2 separate regions of the Homo sapiens genome follow, and region 2 is linked to region 1. The links are contacts of gene promoters, found by promoter capture Hi-C in blood cells and fetal thymus (Javierre and others, 2016). All regions are on one chromosome and are shown on one strand. The core of a region is centred on a gene start or on the middle of the fragment in contact, and the rest is flanking DNA. Distances in the headings are between cores, read along the strand shown. Region 1 holds the start of ANKAR (ankyrin and armadillo repeat containing). Region 2 overlaps WDR75 (WD repeat domain 75).

Region 1 (2,569 bases), core at 52-2,551:
TCTTTGCTGACTTCACTCTCTCTACCTGACGTTTAAATGTTAAATTTCTCAGGTCTCTAATCCTTGGTTCTCAACTCCTCATTCTGCACGCTCTCCCTTGGTGATTTCAACCCCACTCCTGGCTTCAATTACTATAAATCTGCCAAAATTTATACATCTAACCCCTACTGCCATTCTTAGCCCAGAACTGTTTATCTAAAGCATATCTCACATCTCAATTTCTCTCACAGGTACTTCAAGGTCAATTAGTACATAACTGAACTCTTAATCTTGCCCTGATATCCTGTTGCTCCTGACAGAAATGTGGTTCTGACTTGGACACAACCTTCTTTTTCAACATATCCCCAATCTGTCACCAACAGGCAACCTCATTATTTTTCAAATCTGTCCACAGTCCCTGAGCCCCACCTCCACTGCCACTACTGTAGGCTAATCCTTTGGGATGAAATTCAAAATCATTACTCAGCAGCCTGCATGATCTGTCCATCGCGCACCTCAGCAGCTCGGTTTGTGCCCACATCTCTCTTGTTCTCTAAGCAGGGTTTTGCGGTTTCTCAACCATTTCAACTTTGTTCTCACTTCAATTCTTTCTCTCCTGCTGTTCCCTGTTCCTGAAAAGCTACTTGTCCAGTCCTTTGCTTGGGTAGCTCTTTTCCATCTTCTAGGCTCGGAGGGGAAAAGGGCACTTCCTTAGGCAGCCTTTCCTAGCCCTGGGCTAGGTTAGCTTTCATTCGAGTGCTGTCATTCCATCTAATATTGGCACACTGTTAAATATAGCTGTGAGATGATCTGTTCAACTGTAAGCTCCTTGGGGTTTCGTGTCTGCCCTGTTTTCTAGGGTTTCCAGCTTGTAGCTGGGTGCCTGACTCATAATAGGTGTTCCATAAATGCTTGTTGAATGAAAGAATGATGATGGAGGTGGTATTCCAACTCGGGACTGCCTCAACGCCCGGCGCTGTCTCCTCTGCTACTCTGTTTCGGTGTTTTAGCAGAGGCAGATAGTGAGGGCGGCACAGTGCCCACGGCATGCCGCTGGACTAAGCGCTAAGCGGGCTTGGGATGATGCGCACGCGGGGGGTCTGAGCCAGCCAAGGGGCCGGGCGCCGCCTGGGGGCGCTGCGGCTGCTGCGGGACGCACCAGGCCTAGTCGCCCGCAGGCTCCGCCCGAGGAGCAGCCCAGCCACCCCAGGGCCCGGAGGACCAACCGCTTCGACCCGCGCCCGGGCGGCGGCAGTGTTGGCCGGCGAGGCGAGGAGGGCCGGGCCGCCACGGTGGGGCGAAAAGCCCTGAAAGTTCCTCTCAGTTCCTTCCGGTGCGCCTCCCGCTCGCCCTTGCGGAGGCCCTGAGGGCGGATTCAAGGCCCCGCGAGAAGCCATCTGAGGCGGCGACGACTGTTCTCAGCCCCACGGGAACGCCGCGGACGCAGCGTCCCTCTCCCGGACAAGAAAACAGCCATTCTAGAGTAGGTTCCTCCCCTTTCCTTGTTTTTTCCCCTTTCCCGTGCCCATGGCTGACGCGAGCTGCTTTTGGACGTGGGTCCCGGGCTTGACTGGACAGACGTGGGTTCTGTTTCTGAAAGGCGTAAAACCTCAGACTTGTCCTGCAACCTCCTGGTCTCCGTTTTTGCCTCTATAAAGTGGGCATAACAAGGTCTGACTCACTGACCTGGGGTCTCAGGTGTGGCGCCCAAACCAGCACTATCAGCATTTCCTGTAACTTTACTAAAACGCATATTTTCTGGCCCCACTACAGCTCATTGAATCAGAAACTCAGTGGTGGGATTCAGCGATTTGTATTTGAACAAGCCCCAGGTGATTTTGATACAAGCTAAATTTTGAGAACCACTATATAATAGAGACCAATCAGATGAAATAAATCAAACCATTATATAGTAAAGAACCTGGCTCAATAAATAGTAGTTGTGGTTATTATTATTTCAGGAATAGACAGGCATTCATTGGCACAGAAATTGAAGGTTAAGCAAATGCTTCTTTCCTTTTCTTTTTCTTTTTTTTTTCTTTTTTTGAAACAGTGTTTTTCACACTTGTTGCCCAGGCCACCGCAACCTCCGCCTCCTGGGTTCAGCCTCCTGTCTCAAGCCCCGCGAGTAGCTGAGATTACAGGCATGTACGACCACGTTTGGCTAATTTTGTATTTTTAGTAGAGACGGAGTTTCTCCATGTTTGTCAGGCTGTTCTCGAACTCCTGACATCAGTTGATCTGCCCGACTTGGCCTCCCAAAGTGCTGGGATTACACGCATGAGCCACTGCGCCCCACCCTTTTCTTTTCTTTCATGCAGGTCAGTATAGTCTTGCTTTAAAAAACTGAAAACAAAATAAATATCCATATGATTTGGATATTTATCCCCTCCAAATCTCATGTTAAAATAGATTCCCCAATGTTGGAGGTAGGGCTTGGTGCGAGGTGTTTGGATTATGGGGGTGGATCCCTCATGAATGGCTTGGTGCTTTCCTGGCAGAGTGAACTCTACCTCTGAGCTCATGAAAGATCTGGTTGTTTAAGAGTAGACACCTCCCCTTTCTCTCTATTGTTCCGTCTCTTACCATG
Region 2 (2,569 bases), core at 21-2,520, 230 kb before region 1:
ATCTACAAGGTACCACAAGGGATTGGCTGCCTTATACAAAGAGGAATAATTTTGTATTTTACCTCAAGGTGCTTATCAAGAAAGCCAAAATCATAAAAAGACAGACTTGTGGAATTTTGGCGGCTTCCTCTTGAAACTAGAACAAAAACTCTGTTCTAGGTACTTGAGTAGGTTGTTCTGAGGGGCATGTGGGTATACATGTAAGTTCCTGGTGTTCCCATATTAGATATTACTGACTCTCAGTCCAGTTCTGTTTGCATCCCATTCTGCGGCATCCCACAGTTATATGGTGCTGTGAATTATTGCACTGGGGTTGTTAGGGTAGAGAAAACTGAAACAATGAGTCATCCTTGCCTTTCACTTTCCTAAATTGCCCACAAGCTAATGTCCCAAACTCAGTATTTTTCCCTTACAGATCATTCTGAGTATTGCTGCTGTAACAATTTTCCTAAGTTGTTACTGTTATAACATTATTACTCTAACTCTTATTTCTAGTCTTGCTCTGAACTTTTTAACAGTTTTTTGTTGCCTCCTTAACTATAGCTCCTCTATATGGCTTTCAATCCCTTCTCTGATATAGCTCAACTCTTCCTACCCAACTGTTTCCTGATACTACCCATTATAGACACTTTGCTTGTCAGATAAGTACATTATCTGTGTCTTGTATATAATCATACCATTTCCTTGCTCTTGCTTATGTTGCTATTTTTTCTTCCCACCCCTTAAATCATACATCCTTCAGAGTCTAGTTTAAATCTTGGTTCCGACTTGAAACATCCCTAATTTCTTACTTCTTCACTTTCTCAACAAAGATGAATCCTATGTGACAGGTGTTGTGGTGGGTGCATTACACACCTTCCAGTCTACAAGGTTAAGGTATTATCCCTATTGAGTGAGTGCTTGCTGTGTATGCTAAGCTTGTATTTGCATGCAATGTTTCACTTAAACTCTATGAGAACGTGTTATTTACATTTTACAGTGGCTAACTGTAAGTGGAGATGTGAAGTTTAAAGAGGTTAAGTAAATTCTCCAACATCATTCAGCTAATACATAATAAAGCTGACATTCGAATCCATTTGTGTTTGACTTATTATTGTTTCTAATAAGTGAAAACACAGTGTCTCACCTCAAAGACTCACAGTCTGGTAGAGGAGAAACATAGTACACAGACAGTCTTAATGCCTTGTGGTAAGTTCTGTGATGGAGCTAAGCCCACCGTCGTGTAGAAGCACATTAGGACGGGTGCTGATCTAGAATGAGAAGATGAGGAAGGGCTTCCGGGAGAAAATTCTGAGCTGAATCTTAAAGCAGTAGTCAAGAGTTCTGAGAAATGGGAAAGACTGAAAAACTGTCACTGATTGGAAGGTTCTGAGAAGATATGACAACTAAGGTGGTATGCTGGACTGGGGTCTAGGAACATAAAAAAGACATTAATGGAAAAAGTGAAGAGCTCCAAATAAATTATGTAGTCAATAGTCATGTACCAGTGTTAATATCTTAGTTTTGACTAACATGCTGTGCTTATGTAAAGTGCTAACATTTGTGGAAGCTAGGTGAAGCGTATGCAGGAACTCTGTAATTCTTCTGTAAATCTAAAATTATTTCAAAATTAAAAGTTAAAAAATAAGCTTACTCTTAGGAAATAAAAAAGAAGTAATTAGAAAACGTGTTCTATGTAGATAGCAGAGAGTGCAAAACCATGGAGAGAAAGTTGACTTTGAAGGGTTGCGTTTAAGTAATTGAAGCCATTGTTCTATGCTGAGAAACAAGAAGAGAGGATATTCCTTTTTTCTGAGGAAGCTTATCAGAATCAATTAGGGAAAGTTTTCTTGGCCAACAGTAGCCCCCTACCCACCACTGTCTCAAGGAAGCCATATCTAAAGGACCTCTTCATATTGATAGGGTGTGTCTGGGGGATGGGGGAAATTGTTGGAGTTATGAACTATTTTAATAGAGCACAGTGTTAAGTGAAAAAGTAGTTCAAGTTAGACTGGGATCAGACTACCAAAGCCTTAAGAATTTAGATCATTTCCTAAAGTCAGAGGGAAAACAGTGAAGGATTTTAGCTTTATCTGAGCAAGTAATATGGTCAAATTTGCAAAATTAGTCTGGTGTGACTGTGAAAGCTGCATTGAAGGACTGTACCTGGAGACTGTAGGAAGCCCTGAAGAGTGGCCCAGGCTGGAGATGTTAAGCTTCTGAACTGAAGTACTCATGGGAATGGAGAAGAGGCTCCAGCCAAAGGGCAGGTTATATATCGCAAATGCTTTGTTGCTCATACATTCTTGATCTTATACCATTTCATACAACCATGCCTCCTGGCTGACAGCACTTACAAGAGACCATTGATTATAAGATGCATTCTAATTTCAAAGAGATGAACAAGTGAAAATCAAGTGTCTTGAACTAATAAAATAGGATAGTAGTGGTCCCAGTTTGCAACAAATTTAGTGTGTTGTAATACAGTAGCTCTCCCTTGTCCACAGAGGATATGTTCCAGGACCCTCAGTGGATGCCTAGAACCACAGGTAATACCAGACACTCTATATAGTAAATGTTTTCCTATACA

What was found. Contacts are between HindIII fragments. The CHiCAGO score rates a contact against its expected background, and 5 or more counts as called.
Region 2: a contact is called between a fragment that was not itself captured here and the fragment with the promoter of ANKAR in region 1, in 2 of 17 cell types (non-activated CD4 T cells and monocytes). The highest score is 6.2, in non-activated CD4 T cells.

The regions. Positions count from the first base shown.
Region 1 is chr2:189,673,369-189,675,937 of GRCh38, forward strand. It overlaps ANKAR (ankyrin and armadillo repeat containing), which reads left to right and starts at 1,302. Exons shown (of 23, transcript NM_001378068.1): 1 at 1,302-1,462. LOC105373793 (a long non-coding RNA gene) reads right to left here and starts at 917. Exons shown (of 2, transcript XR_923692.3): 1 at 463-917; 2 at 1-25. RefSeq lists a silencer at 958-1,377 and an enhancer at 1,428-1,687. The HindIII fragment of the contact is 6,953 bases long and covers 1-2,569 here.
Region 2 is chr2:189,444,191-189,446,759 of GRCh38, forward strand. All of the region lies in intron 1 of WDR75 (WD repeat domain 75), which reads left to right. Among named protein-coding and RNA genes, the nearest start is that of WDR75, 4.0 kb to the left of the region's middle. The HindIII fragment of the contact is 711 bases long and covers 916-1,626 here.